Linked DNA regions of Homo sapiens: all the other regions are linked to region 5. The links are contacts of gene promoters, found by promoter capture Hi-C in blood cells and fetal thymus (Javierre and others, 2016). All regions are on one chromosome and are shown on one strand. The core of a region is centred on a gene start or on the middle of the fragment in contact, and the rest is flanking DNA. Distances in the headings are between cores, read along the strand shown. Region 1 overlaps PLCG2 (phospholipase C gamma 2). Region 2 overlaps PLCG2 (phospholipase C gamma 2). Region 3 overlaps LOC105369213 (a long non-coding RNA gene). Region 4 overlaps CMIP (c-Maf inducing protein). Region 5 holds the start of GAN (gigaxonin). Region 6 overlaps LOC105369213 (a long non-coding RNA gene). Region 7 holds the start of LOC100129617 (a long non-coding RNA gene).

Evidence for each region. The method cuts DNA at HindIII sites, captures the fragments that hold promoters and counts their contacts. A CHiCAGO score of 5 or more calls a contact.
Region 1: a contact is called between a fragment that was not itself captured here and the fragment with the promoter of GAN in region 5, in 3 of 17 cell types (fetal thymus, neutrophils and monocytes). The highest score is 10.8, in fetal thymus.
Region 2: a contact is called between a fragment that was not itself captured here and the fragment with the promoter of GAN in region 5, in 1 of 17 cell types (neutrophils). The highest score is 6.2, in neutrophils.
Region 3: a contact is called between a fragment that was not itself captured here and the fragment with the promoter of GAN in region 5, in 16 of 17 cell types (naive CD4 T cells, non-activated CD4 T cells, naive CD8 T cells and 13 more). The highest score is 34.1, in naive CD4 T cells.
Region 4: a contact is called between a fragment that was not itself captured here and the fragment with the promoter of GAN in region 5, in 10 of 17 cell types (neutrophils, naive CD4 T cells, M1 macrophages and 7 more). The highest score is 10.5, in neutrophils.
Region 6: a fragment that was not itself captured here is called in contact with the fragment with the promoter of GAN in region 5 in 8 of 17 cell types (neutrophils, total CD8 T cells, naive CD8 T cells and 5 more); the score reaches 9.7 in neutrophils.
Region 7: a contact is called between a fragment that was not itself captured here and the fragment with the promoter of GAN in region 5, in 1 of 17 cell types (neutrophils). The highest score is 8.6, in neutrophils.

What each region holds. Positions count from the first base shown.
Region 1 is chr16:81,781,277-81,784,625 of GRCh38, reverse strand. The region is part of intron 1 of PLCG2 (phospholipase C gamma 2); the gene reads right to left. Among named protein-coding and RNA genes, the nearest start is that of PLCG2, 3.7 kb to the right of the region's middle. The HindIII fragment of the contact is 1,317 bases long and covers 678-1,994 here.
Region 2 is chr16:81,815,472-81,818,890 of GRCh38, reverse strand. All of the region lies in intron 2 of PLCG2 (phospholipase C gamma 2), which reads right to left. Among named protein-coding and RNA genes, the nearest start is that of PLCG2, 38 kb to the right of the region's middle. RefSeq lists an enhancer at 1,491-1,540. The HindIII fragment of the contact is 5,740 bases long and covers 1-3,419 here.
Region 3 is chr16:81,742,410-81,745,744 of GRCh38, reverse strand. The region is part of intron 2 of LOC105369213 (a long non-coding RNA gene); the gene reads right to left. It also overlaps a transcript of PLCG2 not described here. Among named protein-coding and RNA genes, the nearest start is that of PLCG2, 35 kb to the left of the region's middle. RefSeq lists an enhancer at 1-193. The HindIII fragment of the contact is 6,269 bases long and covers 1-3,335 here.
Region 4 is chr16:81,704,153-81,707,771 of GRCh38, reverse strand. CMIP (c-Maf inducing protein) reads right to left here. Exons shown (of 21, transcript NM_198390.3): 19 at 2,168-2,273; 20 at 688-758. Among named protein-coding and RNA genes, the nearest start is that of PLCG2, 73 kb to the left of the region's middle. RefSeq lists an enhancer at 2,591-3,092. The HindIII fragment of the contact is 6,739 bases long and covers 1-3,619 here.
Region 5 is chr16:81,313,346-81,316,950 of GRCh38, reverse strand. GAN (gigaxonin) reads right to left here and starts at 1,989. Exons shown (of 11, transcript NM_022041.4): 1 at 1,671-1,989. The coding sequence starts at 1,837. RefSeq lists silencers at 1,113-1,382, 1,403-1,462, 1,603-1,942 and an enhancer at 1,953-2,152. The HindIII fragment of the contact is 5,241 bases long and covers 897-3,605 here.
Region 6 is chr16:81,761,760-81,765,402 of GRCh38, reverse strand. The region is part of intron 3 of LOC105369213 (a long non-coding RNA gene); the gene reads right to left. It also overlaps a transcript of PLCG2 not described here. Among named protein-coding and RNA genes, the nearest start is that of PLCG2, 16 kb to the left of the region's middle. The HindIII fragment of the contact is 3,806 bases long and covers 115-3,643 here.
Region 7 is chr16:81,664,492-81,668,131 of GRCh38, reverse strand. All of the region lies in intron 7 of CMIP (c-Maf inducing protein), which reads right to left. It overlaps LOC100129617 (a long non-coding RNA gene), which reads right to left and starts at 2,778. Exons shown (of 1, transcript NR_045112.1): 1 at 856-2,778. The HindIII fragment of the contact is 2,087 bases long and covers 915-3,001 here.

The DNA of each region.
Region 1 (3,349 bases), core at 87-2,586, 470 kb before region 5:
TGTTCTGTTTCTTATCTCCTCCTTTCCCTCCAAGTCCCTGGAGGTGCCTGGAGTTGTTACTCTGTAGCTCTCAAGGTTACAGAGTAGCACTAGAGAGACCCTCCCAGGATCCAAAGAAGGAGGAGTGAGAGGCTGGTGTTCAGCCAGGGCTGTCTGTGCTTCCAGCCGGGCTCAGCCTTCTGCCAAGCTGCTCTAAATCTGTGGCTCGGTTCCCTCATCTGTAAAATGGAGGTTAAATGCCCACAAGGGGCAGCTGGGAAGACAAAAAGCTACAATGTATGCACAGCCTGCAGCATTTACCAGGGTCTCAGTTAGCATTAATCAGCCATTGGGGAAGGCATTAATCAAATGTCAACTCTATGCCAGGCACTGAGGTGGGGACTAGGATGCAAATGAGGGGAATGGGGAGGGGCCCAGGATTTGCCCTTTGCCCCCACCTCCCTCTACTGCACACCCATACCAAAGGGACCTCCTCGGTCAGCCATGCCAGCAGCAGGAGATAATTACACCTGCTCTCTGCCCATGGGGAAACAGACTAATCAACTGAGAATTCTAATGTAGTTACAAGTGCAGCAGCAGAAGCATGCACTGGGGGCACGGCGGGCAGAGAGCAGCAAGAAGGAATCCTAAATTTAATCTGGAGTGTGGCTAGGCACTTAAAGGGCTCAGAAAAAGCTTTCAGGGGAAAAAAGCAGGCATCTGAACTCAATCTTTCAAAAAAGATGAAGCAGGAGGAACTGGCTTTAAGTTTAAGCAAAGGCTAGGAGGCAGAACAGAGTATGCTAAAAAAAAACCCTGCTGAGAGTTAATGTGCATCTTACCTTATCAGGAGAAACCCAAAATGACCTCCTGATCATTAGCCAGGACAAAGGGATGAACAAGGTGCCCCCATGGTCCATTTCATCCTTGTTAAGCAGCCATTTATTGGGCCCTTCCCCAGGTGCCAAGCACCTGTTGTGTCTGGTTCGTCTCATTTATCTCAATGGGAAATACGGCAGCGGAAAACTGAAATCCCAAGAGGTCACATTACTTGATCAAAGTCATGTAGACCAGCAGCAGCACAAAGATCAAAACCCTCACCTGAGTCCCAAGCCCCTAGTCCAGAATCCTGTGGCAGCATCTGGCCAGATATTAACTGATTTGCCAGTACTTGCCACTCTCAAAAGAGGTTAAGGGACTTATCCGAGGTCACACAGATAGAAAGTAGCAAAACGAGTTAATGGGTGCAGCACACCAACATGGCACGTGTATATATATGTAACAAACCTGCACGTTGTGCACATGTACCCTAAAACTTAAAGCATAATAATAATATAATAATAAAATTTTAAAAAAGTAGCTGAAACTGGATTTGACCCAGCTGCCAACCACAGAGCTCTTCACTATGTTGACTGTTCCCAGCCATGCATCCTGGAGTTCCCCACTCCCAGGTCTCTAGGCCATAGTCCACTGGAACATAAGTAGGAAACACAAGCCCCATTATAACACCTTCAATTAGACAGAAACCAGGACAAGGGACCAGGCTCCTCAGTTCTTTCCAGCCCTCACTCTGGGAGGGCCTTGGACTTAACCTTCCCCAGGGTCCCAGTTACTTCCAGCTTCGAAGCCCAGTGGATCAACTCAGCCATAAACACCAGACTTCCATGCTGCGTCTCACCAATTGCTTTGTAATAGCTGCTCACAGGTTGCCCTAAAGGAGCAGGGGTGGAATTTACACTCTCACCTGCAGTGGCTGACACCGTTCCTTTGAAAACACTGTATCCCCTCTGATGCTGCAGGGTGGGTGTAAGGTGCAGCAGTAATGTCCATTCAACTGTTGGAGGGGCCCTTACCACTCAAGTATTTGCCTGTGCCCCATTTTAACAGAATCGTTTTGTGGGATTTTGGATGAAATCCTGTACTGGCTTAACATGCACAGAGCACTGAAGAGAAAAACTTCCTTGATTTCTGGTTTGGGGTTCTTGTATCTCACGAAATGCCCTTCTAAATAAGCTTGTGAGATACAAGAACATGAATGAGCTTATGAGATGCAATTGGAAACAGATCTTCACGGCCAAAAGATCCCTGGAGTCCACCATTCAAATCCTGCCAGCACCCAGCTCAGGTCTCCAGCGTTCCACGCTTTATCAACTATGGCAGGGAGGTCTCCAAGACCTTGAGCCCAGGAGAGAGCACCAGCCACCACAGCAACTTCCATTTTGCTTCTGCTTTTTTTGGTTTTTTCAAAAAAAGAAAAAAAAAAGCCTTGAAATCCCTTTTTTGTTCCTGTTTCCCATTCTTAATGGGTAATTCTATAAAATGACTTATTTTGTAAATACAAATATGGCTGAGTTTGAATAACTGATTTTTGCCATTTTTACATTTCATGTCCTTCTAAAGGTTTTTCTTGTATCTCATAAGCTCATTCATGTTCTTGTATCTCATAAGCTTATTTAGAAAGGCATAAAATGGGCCAGGCACGGTGGCTTATGACTGTAATTCCAGCACTTTGGGAGGCCGAGGTGGGCGGATCATGAGGTCAGGAGATCAAGACCATCCTGGCTAACACGATGAAACCCCGTCTCTACTAAAAAAAAATACAAAACAATTAGCCGGGTGTGGTGGCACATGCCTGTAATCCCAGCTACTCGTGAGGCTGAGGCAGGAGAAAGGCGTGAACCCGGGAGGCGGAGCTTGCAGTGAGCCGAGATCGCGCCACTGCACTCCAGCCTGGGCGACAGAGCAAGACTCCGTCTCGGGGGCGGGCGGGGGGGGGGGGGGAAAGGACATGAAATGAGATGCGAGGACCCAAAACCAGAAATCAAGGAAGTTTTTGTCTCTTCAGTGCTCTGTGCATGGTAAGCCAGTACAGGATTTCATCCAAAAATCCCACAAGACAATTGTGTTAAAATGGAGCACAGGCAAATACTTGAGTGGTAAGGGCCCCTCCAACAGTTCAAGGGACATTACTGCTGCACCTTACACCCACCCTGCAGCATTAGAGGGAATACACTATTTTCAAAGGAATGGTGTCAGCCACTGCAAGTGAGAGTGTAAATTCCACCCCTGCTCCTTTAGGGCAACCTGTGAGCAGCTACTAAAAAGCAAAACACGCATATGCTTCGATCCTGCAATTGTACATGTAAAGAAAGACATGCACAAAGATGCAATATGTACGACAGAAAATCACGGAAGCAATAGTTGCAATAGAAATACAAAAAAAGAAAAAAAAACAGAAAACAACTGCTCATCAATGTGGGGGGCCTCCTGGATAAATAATGGTGCACATGCACTGAAGAACGCTCAGTAGCCATCAGAAAGAATGAGGATGATAGATAAGCAATTTGATCTGGAAAGATTTGTGAGGTCA
Region 2 (3,419 bases), core at 902-3,401, 500 kb before region 5:
AAAAAAATCCATGAGCCCACACTAGCTTATGGAAAAGGAATCAAATCCCCCTATTCATATTCTACCTAAATACCAGTTCTCATGAGGCTGCCCTCCACACTCCTCCCTTATGCCAGAGTGACAGGCTCAGCAGCCCTCAGTTTCCATGGAAACTCATGACAAGGGGCATCATGATGGAAGTTATTTCAGCCATTTCCTGCTGCCCACAGTGCCAACAAGGCTTGCTGCTGCAGAGAAAAGGTATGCCCGGCTAGTTGGCTCTGTCCTGGCTATTGTTCAGGCCACTGAAGCCTCCAGAAACACAGCCCCCACCAAGCAGATAATTCCTGAAGCTCAGGCCTTCGGAGCTCCATTTCCGTGCAGCCGATGAGTATCCCCAAGATGCAAGCAGAGGAAGAATGGCATTCACCCATGCAGACAGCATCTATGGTCTACCTGGTATGTGCTAGTCATCATGCATGACACAGGAACAATGAATGGAACAAACAGCCCCCTTTCAAAGAGCTGACAGTCTGAGAAAGAGAGACATTAAATGCCCACATAAATATAAATAACCACCATATGACAATGCTCCCAAAGAGAAGAGCACGATGGAATGAGAGACTAATGGGATGTCCTCCAGAGGGGCAGGAAGTGAGGAGCTGACTGAGCCACAGACTTGATCAGGCAGAAAGGACCTCACCAGTGAGGAAACTGAGGCACAGAGGGCCGAAGCAATCCTAACGGGAGTAAGAGCTTAACACACTAGCTGGCTGAATACTCACGAGAGCCCTGTAAAGTAGGTGTTGTAATTCTCACTTCACAGATCAGGGGACACGAGCCGACAGAGAGGAAGTGACCGAGCCCAGGCCACATGAAAGGAAGGAACAGAGAGTAGATGACAACCAGGTCTCTCTAATCTTGCCCCTTCCCTCCCAGAATCTGTCTTCTCCTTTGGGTCTTTGCTCTCAACCCCAAGTGTTCACTTAACCCCCTTCTCCCCGAAACAGTAAGGAACGTGAGAACATGTTCATAAGCACAGGGAGCTTGTCTCATTTTTGCCTACCCTGGCCTGGGCCTGACATGTAATAACTTATCAATAAATGTGTTAAGTGAAAGAATCACAACCGAGTGCAGGGGCTTATGCCTGTAACCCCAGCTCTCTGAGAGGCCAAGGGCATGGGGGTCGCTTGAGTCTGGGAGTTTTAGACCAGCCTGGGCAACACAGTGAGACCCTATCTCTACTTGAAATTTTAAAAATAAATAGATAAAATAAAATAATCACAAGGTACCCTCTGATGTTCTACATACATCTTTGTCATCTTCTGGAAGGCCAGGTGCAGTTTGAGGGCTCTTGTTTTATCACTTGTGTTTACTGAAGCTGTAGCAACACCAAACACAGCTGACAAAAGGCGTTTAAAACCACCCTAGTGCCTTGCGCAGCACCCCTCAAGACGATGCACTCCAGCGTGCGCAACAAAAGCGAAACTCCTTCTCAAAAATAATAATAGTAATATCAACATCTAAAACAGCTTTCTGTTTTTAGTGGAAGATAGGTGCTTCACACGCACTAATTCATTTTACCTTCACAACTGCCTCACGGCACAGGTACTAATATTATTCCCATTTTATACATGGGGGATGGATGCATAGTCCTTCTCCACCTAGAGGATTCTTCCCATCGGATCTCGGCCTAAATATCAGCTCCTCAGAGAGGCCTTTTCTGACCACCCATCATGTGCGCTCTTCCTGTCCCTTGTGCTGACTTCGCTTGTAAAGAGAGGGCTTTGTCTTCACCTCCCTGTTTACCATCCGTCTCTCCCCACCAGCCTTCAAAACTCACAAGAAGGACACTGTGATGGTTGTGCCTCTATTTCCCCAGCATCTAACGCATCCAGTGCCCGTCACCTTCTGGGCAATAAATGGGTAACTGTGCAATGGGCATAGGAAAAAAAGCCCAGCTCAGAGAAGACTCTAGACCAGCTAGAAAGAGGCAGAACCGGATGTGGCCCCAGGTGCCTGAGTGTTTTCCCACTAATGATAACAGCGCAACCGCACTTTCAGTTCTTGCTTCTGGACATCAGGACCTTGGGAGTAAGTCATAATTTCTGGCTGGGCACCGTGGCTAATGCCTGTAATCCCAGCATTTTGGGAGGCTGAAATGCGAGGACTGCTTTAGCCCAGGAGTTTAAGACCAGCCTAGACAACATAGTGAGATCCCACCTCTACTAAAAAAAAAAAAAAAAAAAAAAAAAAAAAATTAAAATTAGCTGGGCATGGTGGTGCATGCCTGTAGTCCCAGCTACTTGTGAGGCTGAGGGAGGAGGATCATTTGAGCCCAGGAGGTCAAGGCAGTAGTTGAGCTGTGATTGCACCATGGCACTCCAACCTGGGCAACAGAATGAGACCGTGTCTCAAAAAAAAAAAATTATAATGAGGGAAAAGGTCTCCTTCTCAGACTTGCCAGGTCACCCTTTTCATGGTCCCAAAATAGGATATGCCAGATAGTTCAGTATCTGAAGCCTAATTTATTTGTTTTTTGAGACAGGGCCTTACTCTGTTGCCCAGGCTGGAGTGTAGTGGCACGATTTGGACTCACTGTAACTTCCATCTCCCAGGTTCAAGCAATTCTCCCACCTCTGCCTCCCAAGTAGCTGGGATTACAGGCATGTGCTGCCACACCCAGCTAATTTTTATATTTTTAGTAGAGGCAGAGTTTCACCATATTGGCCAGGCTGGTCTCGAACTCCTGACCTCAAGTGATCCTCCTGCCTCAGCCTCCCAAAGTGCTGGGATTACCGGCATAAGCCATCGTGCCTGTCCGTGAAGGCACATTTTTTTTTTTTTTTAAAGATGAAGTCATGCTCTGTCACCCAGGCTGAAGTGCAGTGGCACAATCTCGGCTCACCGCAACCTCCACCTCCCGGGTTCAAGCAATTCTCTTGCCTCAGCCTCCTGAGTAGCCAGGATTACAGGCGCAAGTCACCATGCCTGGCTAATTTTTGTATTTTTAGTAAAAAACGGGGTTTCACAATGTTGGCCGGGCTGGTCTCGAACTCCTGACCTCAAGTGATCCGCCCACCTTGGCCTCCCAAAGTGCTGGGATTACAGGCGTGAGCCACTGTGTCTGGTCATTTAAGACTGCTCAATTATAGCGCACTTAAGACCTACAAAGGTTTCCACCAAGAAGACCGCGAGAATCGAAGAAGCCACCACCTGCATGGGAACTGGAAAAAATCAGGCAGGATTTTCCCATGCTCAGACTCCCAGCAGCTGAAGAGGGACTTGTGTTCTGAGTGGCTTTTGAGCCCCCATGGCCTCTGAAAGGGCCAGGAGAACTTCAGAACAACAGGCTGAGTAGTCAACAGAGCCCAGGCAGGGCAGGCTGAAGAAGAAAACAGCCCCCAACCATGGCAGTGTTAAAGATGCAAATGAGGAAG
Region 3 (3,335 bases), core at 575-3,074, 430 kb before region 5:
TCAGCCAAGGTCAGAACCTGAGATTTACAGGGAAAATGCGAAACATTGGCATTCTAGACCTAACCTACTTTTTCTTACAGAAGCTACCAGACTGCCCACCTTGAGAACAGTAAATCCACATAATTTATCTCTGTATCCCCAGGAGCCAACTACATGCAGCCCATAATAGGGAGCAGACTTGGGGTTGACATCCAGCTGGTAATTACCATATGGCCTGCAGTCTGTGGCCAGTGGCTATTAGTTAGTCAGGGTCCATGTTATCTCGGTTGTTAAATATGTTGAATGCAACCCTGAGTTATAGTCGTTGTTTGGATGAAACTGAGCAAAATTCAACTTGGGAAAGGCAGAGGATGGTCAAACATGAAGATTTTCAGTGACTACCCTAAGGGATATTGCAACTTACAGAAAAGAGAGGTTCCTGTGGCCACAGGTCATCCAAGAAGGCTTCCGGCAACTCTCCTTACCTCTCATGGGTCAGCACTAGGTCATATGCCCTTCCCGGCCAATCAGTGGGAGGGAGGCTAGGAATGCCACCACTGGCTTAGACCGATTAAGATTGAATCTTGGGCTGGGTTACCCAACACAACCTTTTCTAGTTCAGCCCTGCAGTGACCTGGATGCAAAACCCAGCCCCGTTGCTGGAGGTCATTTACAACCAGCACTTAATCATCTTATATTCTTTGCTGAATGTTTATGGAATCAACAGGAAAAAGGTTCCACTGCATAACATTATTTTTAAAGTCCAGGGTTGGAGTTAAGATGAGACACTTTGAATCCAGAAAAACCAACCCTTCTTCCTTTCCCCTTCCTTCCTGCAGCATCCAGCCTGTTGGCCCCCTTTTTCACCTCTCCAGATGCCCTAAAAAATTCCAATTCCTGGGCTGGGAGCAGTAGCTCATGTCTGTAATCCCAGCACTTTGGGAGGCTGAGGCGGAAGAATTGTTTGAGTCCAGGAGTTCAAGATCAGCCTGGGCAACATAGTGAGACTTTGCCTGTAAAAAAAAAATTAGCTGGGTATGGTGACCCATGCCTGTAGACCCAGCTACTCAAGAGGCTGAGGTAGGAGATCACTTGAGCCCAGGAGGTCAAGGCTGCAGAGAGCCATGGTCTGGGTGACAGAGCACGACTATCTTAAAAAAAACAAACTTGCCTCCTTATCATCCCCACCAGCTTCACCATCATGACTGCTATTTATGGAGTGCCAAAAGATTTGGAATTTTTTTGGTTACAAGTGAGAAGAAAAGTCACCTCAATCTGTTTTAATCAAAAAGGGAAGTTGGGGGACTGGGTGCGGTGGCTCACGCCTGTAATCCCAACACTTTGGGAGGGCAAGGCGGGCAGATCAAGAGGTCAGGAGATTGAGACCATCCTGGCTAATATGGTGAAACCCCGTCTCTACTAAAAATACAAAAATTAGCCAGGCTTGGTGGCGGGCACCTGTAATCCCAGCTACTTGGGAGGCTGAGGCAGAATGGCGTGAACCCAGGAGCCGGAGCTGACAGTGAGCCAAAATCACTCCACTGCACACCAGCCTGGTGACAGAGTGAGACTCCATCTCAAACAAAAAAAAAAAAAAAAAGGGAAGTTGGCTGGGCACGGTGGCTCACACCTGTAATCCCAGCACTTTGGGAGGCCGAGGCGGGTGGATTACGAGGTCAGGAGTTTGAGACCATCCTGGCCAACACAGTGAAACCCTGTCTTTACTAAAAATACAAAAAATTAGCTGGGTGCAGTGGCGGATGCCTGTAATCTCAGCTACTTGGGAGGCCGAGGCAGGAGAATTGCTTGAACCCAGGAGGTGGAGGTTGCAGTGAGCCAAGATCGTACCACTGCACTCCAGCCTGGATAACAGTGCAAGACTCTGTCTTAAAAAAAAAAAGAAAAAGAAAAAAAAGGAGGTTATCCCCTCATGTAACTGAAAACCAAGGGCCACAGTCACAGCTGGATCAAGGGGCTCCAACAATGTCATTGGGACTTAGTCTTTCTTCATCTCGCCACTCTCCCTCCCTTGGGATGGGCCTCACCTCCAGGCAGGCTGTCTCCCACAGGAGCCCTGCATAGCTGCAGCTTTCCTTTCTCCTGGCTTCACATCCACAAGAGAGAGGATCTCCTAACCCACCAGTTCCAATAAAAGCCCTAAGTCTGGTTCTCATCAGCTCAGGGTGCATGAGGTGCCCATTCCTGAGCCCAACCTCACCCCTTTCACTCCCCTCTGGCCACTGTGGCCTCTGGCTCCGGAAATGTCCCTCACTCCTTCCAGCCTCCTGGCTTTTGACCACGCAGGTCGCTCTACCTGGGCTCTTTGCCTGGGTGACCAGTGTTCCAGCAAGTCTGTGCCAGTCGGTCCAGTCAAGAGACAGAGCACACCGGTTCTTTTGTTTTGTTTTTGTTTTTGAGATAGGGTCTGTCTCTGTCATCCAGACTGGAAGGCCGTGGTGCTACTGTGGCTCACTGCAGCCTCAACCTCCCATGCTCGTGTGAACCTCCCACCTTAGCCTCGCTAGTAGCTGTGACTACAGGTGTGCACCACCATGCCCAGCTATCTTTTTCTTCCTTTCCTTTCCTTCCTTCCTTCTTTCCTTTCCTTTTCTGTCTTTTCTTTTTTTAGTAGAGACAGAGACTCACTATGTTGCCCAGGCTGGTCTCAAACTCCTGGGCTAAAGTGATCCCCCCACTTCAGCATCCCAAAGTGCTGGGACTACAGGCATGAGCCACCGAACCCAGCTAGACTGGTTCTTCTGTCGATAAAACATAATAGGTGAACTGTGAAGCAGGTATCGAGAACCAAAAAGATGAAATGGGACACTAAGTTATTGCAAGTTGATAATGACACAGAGCAGGCCCTCTTCACACGTCTGGAAGAACAAGAGGAGCGGGACCAATGATAAGAACTTCAAAGCTGGGAGGACGAGGGGCCCTGTGAAGCTGGGTCCCAGAACCTGAGGAAGTCTGGCCAGATGGGAAGTGAGGCTCCCGGCCCCTGTTCACTCCCGTCTCGTAGCACCTGGCTCTTTCCTTCATAGCACCCACCGTGGGGTAACAAATGATTATATGTGCTATCATCTGTCTTGAGTTCTCCCCACCAGCTCCCTGAAAGCAGTGGGATGCCTGTGGTCACTCCTGTCCACCCCAGTTCCCAGCACATACTAAGCGCTCCTGAAACCACTGTTGATGGAGTCATTTCTCAGGGGTAGTGCATGGGACGTTCCTTTCCTGGCTGGACTAAGACTCTGCCAAGTCATCTAAACCCTCCTTCACCCTGCATGGGGGCTGGGGCTCCAGGGAGATAGGCTGGGCCCCAGGAGTAGGATGGAAGATGGCAGTCACTCTTAGAG
Region 4 (3,619 bases), core at 143-2,642, 390 kb before region 5:
AGGACGGGGTGACAGGAGGCGACTGAGGGCCTGGCTCCTCCAACCTTCCCAAGATGTGCACGTGTGTTTCTTAAAACGCCCCTGCCTTCCACCCTCCGATCCTTTTTCTTTCCCGGATTTCACTTGCTGGCCTAGTGCCGGTGCAGCGCAGCCCTCAGTGGTGAGGCACCAGCCCTGCTCAACCCTCCCTGCTTCTACTCCTGCTCCCTCTCAAAATATTTATTTCCTAACAGCCAGAGCATGCTTTGAAAAGCATGACTCGCTGCTCTGCTGTGACCTGTGAGGGCTTTTTCCATCCGGCCCCAGCCCATTCCCTCTCTCAGTTCCTGGTTACATTTGCTGCAAAGCCAGGCCTCGCCCATCTCTTCTGTCTCAGGACCTTGGCACTTGCTTTTCCTCTCGCCCTTGGTATTTCTGGCTTCTTATGTTTTGGGTCTCAGCTCCTGCGGCCTCTTCATCAAAGGCACCATCCCTGATCACCCCAGGCCACACAGGCCTTCCTATTTCCAATTACTTCCCTGCTGCTTCCTCTTTGTCACTCTTTTTGATCTGCCATTATTTTATGTATTGATCTGTAGATGTCATCATCCTTTACTGGAGAACGAGCTCTGTGCAGGAGATGCACCAGCATCCAGATGCTGGCTAGAAGAAGGAGGGGAGGAGAGTGGGGAGGAAGGAGGGAATTACCTTCAGATCTTCGTAGGTGTCAGCTGAGAGCTTGGTGCTGTTCATGTTTAAACTGCAGAGACTCTTCATGGCTGCACAAGAGACAGATACAGTTGTTAGGAGAGCGAGGCCCCAAAGGTATGAAGGTATGGGATGGCCAAGCTGGAGGAGCTCAATGCAGGTGCCAGGCCCCCTGTTAGGAGATGGGGCTGGGGAGGGAGGTTTCGTAGACACAGCCAGGGTAGGTGGCCCACTAGACACCGAAAGTCTATTTCAGGCACGTGCTGGTCTGAACAGAGCCTTCGTTTTCTTCCCACCCTCTGAGCCTCCCTCCCTTCTGGTCCCTCTGTCGTGTGCCCCCACTGCCTGGACCTGATGTCCCCAGAGCTTGCCTGCCACACCCCAGATCAGGCCCGAGGCCTCCCCACTAAGGGAACCCCGGATGGTCCCCCCGTCGTCATTGACTCGGTGCTGCTTCTTGAAAGCAAGCCTCAACCTCTGGTTTGTGTTGGAGTCGCACGGGGGGCAGACCCCTCCACCCACTCCCAGAGACGCTGAGCAGGGCCGCAGCAGGGACCAGGAATCTGTGCTGTTGATGAGGACCGCGCCCCCCCGGGGGACTCCAGTGGAAGCAGCGCATCTGCATTTGCAGCCAAACTGGCCGAGCGCTGCCGCTCTGCCTCCACTGACCCAGTCACCTGCTCCCACCTCCTCCCAAGCCACCCAGCATTTGCCAGCGGCCCGGTAGGAGTCATGGCCCCTGCTCAGGGTGCCTCCCCCTTGGCCAACTCCCACAAATCTGTCTTCACACCCAGACTCAACAGCACCTCCCCGGGAAGCCTTTTCTGACTCTTCCCACTGAGCCACGGGTCTTCCCGTCTAAAGCAGTGGGCCTGGAAAAGGGAAAGCTGGTCAAATACAGAATCCCGGGCTCAATATCCCTGAGGCTAGTTCAGTCACCTGGGGTTTGGCACACAGGAACTGGCCTTTCTAGGTTCCTTGAGAATTCTGTGCCTCCTTCTATTATGACAGGGCTTCTCAAATGTCAACGGGCACGGGAGCCTCCCAGGCATCTGCTTACCGTACGGTGTCTGAGTCAGGAGGTCTGGAGTGGGCTTGGGAATGTACATTTCTGACCAGCCCCCAGAAGACGCTGCCACCACTGGTCAGGGGACCACAGTGGCAATGTACTACAGCCCCGTCCTTGAACTCGACCCCTCAGTGGACTGTGAGTGTCAAGAGGCTATGGGCTGGCCTTACTCATTTTTTCTATTGCCTCTAGAATATAAGCTCTCTGAGGTTAGGGATATTTTTCCCTGTGTTGTTCCTGGCACATGGAATGGTGCCTGGTCCACAGCAGGTGTGCAGTGAACACGTTTGTGAATGAACGAATTTCTCTATCTGTGCATGGTGCAAAGTCAGTGCTTGGCCAGTTTGGCTGAAGCAAGGAAGGAATGAATCAAGCGGCCCCTCACCCCCCAGCTGCCCCGGAGGCACTCACAGCTCAGGGCCAGCAGGCCAGCGTCTGTGACCGGGGTCTCGCACAGGTTCAGCACCTGGAGCATGGTGAGGTGTTCCGACAGGAGCCGAAGGCCAGCGTCTCCAAACTGTAGAGCACAGAAACTCTCAGCCCTCTCCCGGCCACTCCTGGGGAAGTGACTCTGAGGCTGGGGCAGAGGTGGAGGAAAGGGATGGGGACAGAGCCTGGCTCTGAGGCCCATGGCCCACCAAGCCCTGGGGTCTGGGCTGCGTTCACGTCCCCTAAACAATCCCACGCCTCTCTGAACCGGGTTAGAATCCAGCTTCTGCTGTTGGGAGTGGAGCCAGGCCAGGGCCCCCTTGGAGTCAGTTTTGCCTCCATGAAGGAGGGCTTTGAACTTGTCTCTCCCTAGCTTCGAGATGCTGCCTAGGTGGCTTTCTCCTGCTGGGTGGACAGTGGAAGGACAGGGCTGGGCCGGGGGCAGGCTGCAGGGACTGTCCCCAGTTTCTCCTCTGGAAAATTAGGGTGAGGGTAGAACCTGCACTTCACAGGTGTGCAGTGAAGGCCCCTTCATCTGCCCTGTGCAGAGTACTGAGCAGTGCAGTTCACACTGAGCTGGGACTCAGCAGCCACTGGTGTTACTATAACAAAAAGACCCAGAAGCCTCCTGCGCAGCCCCCCGCAGGCCAGCGAAGCCTGGCTCACGTCTCAGCTCTACCTCTCAGAACCTCAGGACTCGGAACTGGGCACATTATTTCCAAATGGGAAATGGGCTGCAGGGCTTCATGAGGTCCTCAACCTCCTCTAGCCTCAGGGAGTGGGTGCTGAGCTTGAGGGAAGGGTCGTGTGGTAAGCAATGCCTGGGGTGTAGGCAGGGAAGCGGGTGAGGGGCAGGGAGGAGGGTGAGGGGGCAGGGAGGAGGGTGACGGGGGCAGGGAGGAGGATGAAGGGGTAGGGAGGAGGGTGAACGAGTTAGGGAGGAGGGTGAGGGGACAGGGAGGAGAGTAAGGGGGACAGGGAGGAGGGTGAGGGGGCAGGGAGGAGGGTGAGTGGGTGGGGGGGTGAGGGGGCAGGGAGGAGGGTGAGTGGGCAGGGAGGAGGGTGAGGGGAAAGAGAGGAGGGTGAGGGGGCAGGGAGGAGGGTGAGGGGGCAGGGAGGAGGGTAAGTGGGTAGGGGAGGGGGAGGGGGCAGGGAGGAGGGGGAGGGGGCAGGGAAGAGGGTGAGGGGAGCAGGGAGGAGGGTGAAGGGGCAGGGAGGAGAGTAAGGGGGGCAGGGAGGAGGGTGAGGGGGCAGGGAGGAGAGTAAGGGGGACAGGGAGGAGGGTGAGGGGGCAGGGAGGAGGGTGAGGGGAGCAGGGAGGAGGGTGAAGGGGCAGGGAGGAGAGTAAGGGGGGCAGGGAGGAGGGGGAGGGGGCAGGAAGGAGGGGGAGGGGGCAGGGAGGAGGCTGAGGGGAAAGGAAGATGGTACGGGGGA
Region 5 (3,605 bases), core at 740-3,239:
GAAGGCGGAGGTTGCAGTGGGCCGAGATCACGCCACTGCACTCTAGCCTGGGCTAAAGAGTGAAACTCAGTCTCGAAAAACAAAACAAAACACCACGACCTCATTGAGGTCACACTGTGGTTGGGAAAGACCACCAAAGTAAATGTGTAAAATATGGGGTACGTCAAAGTGGTAAGTGCTATGGAGAAAAACGAACAAGGATAACAAGCAAGGATTCGGCAATTTGCAATTTACTTCTTTTAAGCCAAACGGATGCCATTTAAAGAACTATAACAATAATGCATCTAAAGTAGTTTTCTTCAGCATTTTCCCAAACAGGGAAGACTTTGGTCTGCTGACTCCAATTTGGGATGGGTTGCTCAAACCTCGGAACTGCCAGCTAGAAGCTGTCTGTCACATTAGCAATCCAAATTCTGTACTAACGATGCTACCCCAGACCCTACTGCCGCCCCGCCCCCCCACCCCTCCACACTCCCCACCGCCAAAGAGCGCAAATGGATTCACAAAACAAATCCAAGAGAAACCAGAAGTTACAAGGGCACTTGAATTTCTTCTAAGTTTAGCACAGATATCTCCCCAATGCAAAGGTTAAAAGTGTAGCGTGCGTGGTGGTTTTGCTGGGACAAAGCGCTAAGAATACACATCATTTTGCTTTTTCTGACCTGTCAATTGTAGTGATATTCTCTACCACTAGCTTATATTTAACCAGCTTACTGGTCAGTTTCTCCAGTTTTTAGCATTCCCCCCTTTCCTTTTATTAAAACAGCAACCTAGTTTGCAAGAAGGTTGCTAAAAGAAAAGATAGTCTCCTGCAAGATCTGATACACTTGTATAAGCACTGTCTTATCAACCTTTTAATTAACCTGGTTAGTTGAGTTGGCAAATCAGGTTAAGCTTTGCTTTACTAAAGTATTAAAATGCCCTTTGTCGCAAGGCTCTCACGGTCCTCGGGTTGTAACAGCATCCTGAGAATTCGCTACAGTTTACTTCAACGTGTAACTCCTCTTTTAAACAGTTACCAGAATGGAGCGGAAAAGACACGTTTGGCAAGGAGAATTTCGCCCGGAGGTTCGGACTACCAACCCAAGGAGAACATCGAGAGGGTTTTCTCTGCCTGCACCCAGCGAGGCGCTGTCTGTCTGGCCTCCCAGCGGGCAGGGCGCTCCCCGCCTGGTTGGCGGCGCCGGCCCAGCCCCCGCGCGTGGATTCAGAGGCGAGCGACTGGCGAACTTCAGCGGGGACCGCGGGCCCGGCCTGGGCGAGGGGGTGACTCTTCCCCGGCGCGGCCTCGCCCAGCCCGCAGGTGCGGGTCCCGGCCGGCCCAGGACGGCGTCTGGGGGCCTCAGGGTCTCCGAGGTCGGGCGCTCGCCGCGGCGGTGGGAACCGGGAGGGACAAGGCGGGGGATCGCGGCCCGGGTCCGGGGACAACTCCAAGGGGCGCGGGGGTCCAGTGGGGAGCGCGGGCCTGGAAGCCACAGAGGCCGCCTGGGGGACGCGGTCAGCGGGGCCGGGTTCCGGCGCTTGCCGGGAGGGACGCCGCGCCAACGGTGACGCGGGGACCCCGGCGCCGGGGACAGGGGACAGGGTCTGGGGGCCACGCCCGGCCCGGCCGCCCCGCCTCCGGCTCCGGGCAGCACCGCCGCGCCCGCCCGCCGTAGCCCCCTCCCCACCTGATGTACGGGCTGGCCGCCGCCAGGATGTTCTTCTGCACCGGGATCTCCTCCCCGTCGAGGACCAGGTGCGCGTCGCAGAAGCGAGACTCCTCGCGGAAAGAGCTGAGCGCTCGCAGCAGACGCGCGGCGTGCTGAGGGTCAGACACGGCACTGCCCTCAGCCATCGCGGCGCCCGCTCCTCTGCCGACGGGTCCGGCTCCCGACACCGTCCGGCCGGACCCCTCGAGCGGCCCGAGTCCTGCGCGCGCGCCCGCCCGGCCCGGCTCTCCGCGCTCTGAGCAGAAGCTGGAGCCCCCGGGACGTGCCTGTGCTATCCGCGGCGCGCTGGGCCGGCGCCTTTAAGAAGCCGCGTCATGAAGTCATTTCTCCGCGACGCCCCCGCACCGTCGCTCCCCGCCTTCTCGCCTCCGCTGCTGGAGATGGCCAATCAGAAGCCTCCTTCCTCCGCCCGCCTGACCAGCTGCGGCTGGGTGCAGCGGAAGGTGTCTACGGATGAGATAGGTCGCTCCCGCGATGGAGGGATGTGCGGGCGGGCTAGGATTCCGTGGTTAAGCCTGTGGCCTCTGGAGCCGCGAGTTTGAATCCTGGTTGCAGCTGTTCCACTTACTAGCTCTGTGGCCATGGGTAAGGTGCCCATCCTCAGTTTCTCCGTCTGCAAAATGAAAGCGAATTCTTAGTGTTGTTGTGGACTCATGAGATGATGCATGGAAGCAAGGGCGAAGTCGCTGTAGCTTTCTTTATTTATGAGAGAAAAGGAGCTGCCCAGGTGAGAGGACAAAAACCCGAGAAAACAGACCCGGAAAAGATGGTTTTGGTTGCGGGCTAGGAAGGAGATGTAGCAGATGAAGCTGGAGAAGTCCGAAGGAGGCCTTAAATTTTGCAGGGCCTCCTTGGTGTGGGAAGGAGTTTGGTTTCTGCAGTGGTGAAGAACCATGGAAGTACCGTATTTAGCAGGGGATTTTGTGCAGGTCACTCAGCTCCTGCGTGGAGAATAAGGCGGGGATGGATGTGCTAAAGGCAGATCGATGCTTAGGTATTGCAGGACTAGAGAGAAGGGAATGGGCACCTGGATGAAAGGGTGATGCGGGGGCGGGGGTAGACAATAGTGGATTGTTTTAAAAGAAATTGTGAGGGAGAGGGAGTTAAGGATAAATATTCTGTTTGAGTAACTGCATGCATGTTTGCACCTTTCAGGGAGAGCTAGGAAATGCTGAAGGGGTGGGCAGTAGAGAGGCAGATGTTTAGATTCAGACAGGCTCCCAACCCAGTGAAGATCAAAGCTGTGATAGAAAGGATCGCTGGGTCAGCTCAGCTGGCAGGCCAAGCCCCACGGTATCTGAAGTTTCCCTGGAGGTTGCTCAGGGCACATGGGAGTGTGGAATGTAGCAACCATTTTGTGCAAACGTTAGGGACTCCATAAGCCTCTAAAAAATTAGCAATTGTATGAGGACTCCGGACCAGAAGAATGTGGCTAGCATTCCAGGCAAGACAGGATGGAATTTTCACTGTCCTTCAACCAACTGAAAGGCTCCAATAAAGTCTTGGGTATTTACCCTGAACCAGCCAAGGCTTTGGAGTCACTGGCAGGAATCCGAGTATCTAACTGTTTTCAGGGCAGAATAGATGGGGAGGGTACGGCTGTGGAAGACACATGCATTTCCACTTTCTTCTGTAAATGCAGCTCAGTGTTCCCGGATGCAATGATAAAGATGTCTAGGATTTGCTTCAAAACAAAACAAAGGGATGGGGAAGCAGATGGGAGTGTAGATGAGTCAAAAGTGGCCGCAAGTTACTAATTGTTAAAGCCACGTAATGGGGATGTGGAGATTCGTTGTACTGTCTCTATATTGTTGTGGATGTTTAATGGGGATGTGGAGATTCATTGTACTGTTTCTATATTTTTGTGGATGTTGAAAAATATTTTCTTCTTTC
Region 6 (3,643 bases), core at 768-3,267, 450 kb before region 5:
CTCCTGGGCCTCCCAAAGTGCTGGAATTACAGGCATGAGCCTCCACACCTGGCCGGCATGGTTGCTTTCTTCCGGAGGCTCTGCGGGAGATTGTCCCATGCCTCTCTCCAAGCTTTGGGTGGTTGCTGGGAATCTTTTGTGTGTTCTGGTTTGCAGATGCCTCTCCCCATCCTCTGCCTCAGTTGTCACATGGTGCTCTCCCTGTGTGTCGCTGTGTTGCCTTCATATCATCTTCCCTCTGTGCATGTCTCTGTGTCCAAATGTCCCTCTTCTTATGACACACCAGTCATTGATTTATTTTTTTTGTGGGGGGACAGTGTCTCATCTCACTCTGTCACCCAGGCTGGAGTGCAATGGGGTGATCACGGTTCACTGCGGCCTTCACCTCTAGGCTAAACCAATGCTCCCACCTCAGCCTCCCGAGTAGCTGGGACCACAGGTGCACACTACTATGCCCGGCTAATTTTTTATATTTTTTGTAGAGACAGGGTCTCAGTTTTGTCCAGGCTGGTCTCGAACTCCTGAGCTCAAGTGATCTGCCCACTTAGGCCTCCCAAAGTACTGGGATTACGGGATTGAACCACCACACCCAGCCTCATCAATTTAGGATGTACCCTAATGCAGTATGACCACATATTAACTTGATTACATCTGCAAAGACCCTCTTTCCAAATACAGCTATGTTCTGAGGTTCCAGCTGGACATAAATTTGGGGGACACTGTTCAACCTGGTCCACAAGGTAATAAAAAAGATGGAGAAAATTAGGCTTGCCAAAGTCCTCTGACACAGCTGGGATGGCCAGTGTTCAGCCTGTGGCTGAAAGACAACTGCATGGGCTGGAGGGTGAGACCTGCACGGGGCACGCTTGGCCAGTGATCAGTGTCGCAAAAGTGTCTTTGAGGAGAGTGAATCTATTCAGATGCCAGCTGTGGGCAATTGCACTTTCCAAAGACACATCCCCTGATTCTTCCTCCATCCCACATGCTCTTCTACACTGTCACATTGACATTCGTCCATGGAGAGATGGGGTCCAGGTTTCCTTTCCTTGAATCTGCCAGATCTTTGTAACTTTTCACTTTTTATTACTTATTTATTTATTTATTTTGAGACAGGATCTCACTCTGTCCCCCAGGGTGCAGTACAGTGGCTCAATCAATCACAGCTTACTCCAGCCTCGACCTCCTGGGCTCCAGCAATCCTCCCACTCAGCCTCCGGAGTAGCTAGGGATACAGGCTCACACCATCACACCTGGCTAATTTTTTAAATTTTTTATAGAAATGGGGTCTCACCATGTTACCCAGGCTGGTCTCGAACTCCTGGGCTTAAGCAATCCTCCTGCCTCAGCCTCCCAAAGTGCTGGGATTACAGGCTTGAACCACTGCACCCAGCCTCAGAACTTCGTAACTATTTTTTGTTTGTTTTTGTTTTTGTTTTTTGAGACAGAGTCTCTCTGTCGCCCAGGCTGGAGTGCAGTGGCAAAATCTTGGCTCACTGAAACCTCCGACTCCTGGGTTCAAGCGACTCTCATGCCTCAGCCTCCCGAGTAGCTGAGATTACAAGTGCCTGCCACCACGCCCAGCTAATTTTTCTATTTTTAGTAGAGATGGGGTTTCACCATGTTGGCCAGGCTGGTCTCGAACTCCAGACCTCAGGTGATCCACCCACCTCAGCCTCCCAAAGTGCTGGGATTACAGGCATGAGCCACCACACCCGGCCCCCTTTGTAACTTTTTATAGCTGCCTCAATAGAATGTAGTAAAAGGGACAATGTGTGACAGCTTCTGCCTGGCTTGAGGCACACAACTTAGGAGCCCCAAGATGACGTTAGAAGACCAGCTACCCTGACCTCACCATGCTGGAGAGGTGCCCGGGGAGCCTCACCTGTAAAGTTCACCTCTGCTCACATCTTCCCAGCCCAGGCACAGGCCGTGAGAGGGAGGACACCTTGGAGATGGCCCCAGCCCAAGTTGGCATCCACCTGCAGCTGGACAAGAGACCTTGCAGAGAGCTGGAACTTCCCAGCCACTCCCAAATACCCGACCCACAGAAACCATGAGAAAATCTGAGTTATTGTTGCTTTAGGCCACTGCATTTTGGAGTCATCTGTTATGCAGCAATGGATGACTGATACAGGGAGATTATTTTGCTGAGTGGAGCTTGCAAATCTGGGCTACAGCAGAATCATCTGCGGCAGTGGAGGAGAGGCTGGGTTCTCCCATCTGGAACTTTCCTTCTTTGCCTTCTGTAAGGCCTCTTCTTCAGTCTCCTCTAAATCAAATCTGAGCAAGCAAGTATTTTTATCTTTTGTATTTTATCTTATTTTTTGTTGATTTAATTATTTTTAAGAGACAGGGTCTCACTCTGTTGCCCAGGCTAGAATACAGTGGCATGATCATATCTCACTGCAGCCTTTAACTCCTGGGCTTAAGGGATCCTCCTGCCTCAGTCTCCTGAGTAGCTGGGACTACAGGCATGTGCTACCATTCCCGCTAATTAAAAATTTGTTTGTAGAGGTGAGGTTTCACTATGTTGCTGAGGCTGATCTTAAACTCCTGGCCTCAAGTGATCCTCCTGCCTTGGCCACCCAAAACCTTGGGATTAGCAAGTATTTTTAATGCCCATTTGAAGGGGCTCTGCCTGATCAGCCAGCCTTGGGGACTTGGGGGGATATTGCAGTGGTGTATTCTTTTGCTCAGGCTTTTCCCATTGTCAGGAAGTCCCTTGGCCTGCCTTTTCACTCTCCCCTCAACCTAATGATTCTGTTTCATCTATAGGACTCTGTTCCTTATGTTAAAGGAAAATACAGACAATTTTATACACTTTTTTTTTTTTTGAGACGGAGTCTCACTCTATTGCCCAGGCTGGAATGCAGTGATGCAATCTTGGCTCACTGTAACCTCCACCTACCAGGATCAAGCGATTCTCATGCCTCAGCCTCCCGAGTACCTGGGACTATAGGAGCATGCCATCACACCAGGCTAATTTTTGTGTTTTTAGTAGAGACAGGATATTCCCATGTTGGCCAGGCTGGTCTTGAACTCCTGACCTCAGGTGATCCGCCTACCTTGACCTCCCAAAGTGCTGGGATTACAGGCGTGAGCCACCATGCCCAGACCATTTTAACAGTTGACAGTTTCTTTTTAAAAAAATAATAGCAACATATGTATGCATTTGCCATTACTTTGAAATGCATTAAAATTAACATGCATTAATAATTGGAAAGAGGCATAGACAGATGTGACAAAGCAAACAGAGTAAATGTTCAGGGGCCATGCGTGGTGGCTCATGCCTGTAATCTGAGCACTTTGGGAGGACGAGGTACACAGGTCACCTGAGGTCAGGAGTTCCAGACAACCCTAGCCACCACATAGGGAAACCCCATCTCTACTAAAAAATACAAAAAGTAGCTGGGCGTGGTGGTGCATGCCTGTAGTCCCAACTACTTGGGAAACTGAGGCAGGAGAATCACTTGAACCTAGGAGGCAGAGGTTAGAGTGAGCCGAGATCACACCACTGCACTCCAGCCTGGGTGACAGAACAAGACTCCATGCGCAAAAAAAAAAAAAAAAAAATGTGCAGGGTGAAATCATAGGTAGTGACTAGATGGATGCTTGCTATACAACCCTTTTTACTTTTCTGTAT
Region 7 (3,640 bases), core at 709-3,208, 350 kb before region 5:
TTCAAGCTGTAGAACAGAAATAGAGACCCCCCTCAGGTCTAACTGACCCCGAAGCTGGCATGAAAGCTCTGAGTGGAACCCGTTCCTACCACTCCCTCCCGCAGGCTCCCAGGAGAGAGTTTCTAGAGCCGCTGGGGGCTTCTTCATGTGGAGTCAAAGGGGTCCTTTGTGAGAGACAGTGCAGGGGGAGCTTTCACTCGTCTGCCTGCTAGGACTGTCCTGCTACATAAAGAGGGAGGCAGAGCCCCCGGAGCAAGTTCAGAAAAATGCACGCACTGGCATGAGCACAAACACACACACACACACACACACACACACACACACACACACACTCTCTCTCTCTCTCTCTCTCTCTCTCTCTCTCTTTCTCTCCCTCCCTCCCTCCCTCCTGGGTTAGAAAATGAGGCCTCTGCCTCACAAGTATTTAATCTGGCTTTGGGCTGCCACGTCTGTCTCTGGGCCTCACTGACCCCACTATGGAATGAGGGTCCACAGAAGTGATCTCTAGCCCCCTTCCACCACGAGGGTTTTATGATTTTGTAAACTGCTTCAACAGAGACTTAAGGTAACTGTCATCTTAGCTATTAGATTTTTGAATAATCAAGGTCATTTCCATGGAAATAAACATTTACAGAGGGATCCAGCAGCCTCTGAAAAATACGCTCCCCTTGGAAAACTGGAGGTTAGGTTACTTGACGGTCCACTGGGGACCACAGCCGTGTCTTCTCGCCTCCTTTGCCACAAGAACACTCCGAGTGGCGTGGGGGCACAGAGATACATGGTCATTCTTCAGAACGCAGTTTGGCGAATTATTTGGACTGAATCTCCAGAGGAACATACTAAAGAACCGCTTCCTTTTGTTTCTAGTTTTTATTTCAGTCTAGTAAAGAACATTCTTTGAGACTCTCAAAGCTTCAGTTTGCTCATCCGTGAAAGGGAGCACATAACATATTTGCAAGAGATGCACCCAGAATGGGGGAGCCCCCAAATCCCAGAACAGCACCGTGGCTACGTTCCCCCCGTTTCCTAAATGTCTGAGTGCCTCCTTAAGGAGAAACACTGCATTTGGGGTGAAGAGCAGTCACTGTTCATGCCACCCCAACAGGCTCATGGCTTAGGCAGGCTAGGTACGCTCCTTAGCCAGAGACATGACCCCCCCCCCACACCAGCTGAGAGCCCCAGCTCCACAACGGTGCTGCTGACCCGTGCCACTCATTAAGCATCAGGGCGCATTCAGTGAGTAAATGTCAAAGCTCTCTCTCGCCCACCGCCTGTGTTGTTAGGATTCCATGAGGTCAGGTCTTCCTGTGCCTGGCATGGCCATAATCACTGTTTAATACAGTCTGTTCTTCTACACGAGAGGCGGATCCTCCTCGGTCCTCCCAGCAGTTCTCCTCTGCCGCCGCCGCTCATGGTGTGTAATTAGGAGGCGCCAAGAGCAAGGTGGGATCTGGGTGCGTTAAAGCATCCCCAGACACCTGGGATCACTTAGGGGGTACTCGTTACAAGTGAGGCGAGGACTCATGGCTGAGGGTCCCTACTCTCTGCCAGACTGCCACAGATACTATAAATTCTGGGTCTGCCCAGAGCGGTTCTGATTTTTATAGAGAAAATTAATACATGGTCAACACTCCAGGCCCATAAAACTAACCAAATACAAGAAAGGCGTTGTATGGTGAAGCCCCGAGAGCCTGTCTGAATTATGAATTTTTTCCCTTTGAAGTCAGATGTCCTCAAAGAACCCTTATGAAACGGTTTATTGACTAACATGGAGTATGCAAAAATGTTTATGTGCCTGAAGAGGCATTCCTCTGCCAAGTATGTCCCGGGGGTGTGGCTCTGCCATTGACAAGTTAAGGTCCTTCGCAAGAAAACCTGAAGAACCTTTGCTCTGAACTCCAGCATGGCACAGCCCACTCCATACACTACACCCGTAGTGATTTTAAAGTTAACAAACAGGGCACCTTTCCTTCTAGCTGGCCAAAGCCAGAAAGAGCTCCTCCTTGAAACTATGAGCGCCCAAATTAAGGCAGAAACCCCGCCCCATCCCCCAGTGGGGAGTCTCCTTGTCCTGGAGAAAGAACTGCACAGGGTGTCCCTATCCCCTGTGTTCTGAAAACAAGAAATGAATTTACCCCAAATCTAGGAGGGGCTCAGAAATCAGCAACAATTCATTTACAGTTTGCAATCGCTTAGGGTAGAGAATGGTACATAGCATTCATTATGGTACTAACACGATTTCAGTTGGTAGTGGTGGCCTGGAATGCAGGAGGGGAAAGAGTGTGATGCTGTCTCTGGCTCTACAGAAAGAGTGCTATAATTGATTAATGATGTCTGCCATGAGCATGGAAGGGGTAGAGGAGCACATGTGTCATGCACTTCCATTCCTGACTGGGGAAGGGGCTGTAGGTGATATACTATTCTTCAGGGGCATGGTGTGGAGACAGGCAAGCTACATCACAAGTGAAATGATGTGTGGTTACCCTTTTTCAGTTGTTTTCACGTGCTCCAGGAGACTCTAAAATCTAACGTGGTGGCTGGCTCAGTACAACATGTGATTGGGAATGGGCCCTGGCCTCAGGCTGCCTGCTCCTTAGCTCCCACCAGGACCACCCACAGCTGCTCATCAGACCCTGCCTATCCCGTCCCACCTCTCTGGGTCCCAGATTCCTCCTATGCACAGGTGTCATGGGAATGGCATGAGGGTTAATAACACAATACACTCAAAGAGCACCACACTCTTGACTCCAAGAAAGTGTTCAATAAGCATCTGCAAAAAGATGTTATTCTTATTCCTACCTGTGGTCCCTGTGGCCACTTAGTGGACCTAGCTAAGCCTCAGTTTCCTCGTGACATACAGGGCAAATAATGGCATTTGCTGCTGTCCCTGGAATGATGAGGGAACACCAAGGGGCCACACAGATTACAAGCGCCCCACCCGCTCTAAGTGTGCAATTAAATCCTGCTTTTGTATTTAAAAAAAAAAATTAAAGGCCAAGCTTTATTCAGATTTCCTCAGTTTTCCCTTCATGTCCCTTTTCTGTTCTGGGATCCCATGGAGAGCCCCAAATGACATTTAGTCGTTACGCCCCCGTAGACTCCTCTGAGCTGTGACAGTTTCTTAGAATCTCCTTGTTTTTGATGACCTTGACCGTGGGGAGTACTGGCCAGGTACTTTGTAGACTGTCCCCTTGTTGGGATTTGTCTGATGTTTTTCTCATGATTGGAATGGGGTGATGGGTTACTGGGAGGAAGACCATAGAGGTCAAGTGTCGTTTTTATACGTCCTATGAAGGGAATATTCTGTCTAACTGGCTTGTTGTTGTCGATGTTGACCTTGATCACCTGGCTGAGGCTGAGTGTGTCTGGTTTCTCCACTGCAAGGCTACTCCTGCCCCCTTCCATACAGTGCTCTCTGGAAGGACCTCGCTGTGCGCAGCACACACTAAAGGAGTGCAAAGTCGCGCTCTGGGTCCTTGAGGGCAGGGCATCTACAGACATTATTTGGGCCTATTCTTCCCGGGAGGCTTTCCTCTTCTCCTCCAGCTGCGGTATTTTTGTAATTCTTAGGAACTGCAAAAAGATTCTTCCTGTTGCCGTAATGGAGGACAAGCTGTACAAAACCCCCAAAAGTCCTTAA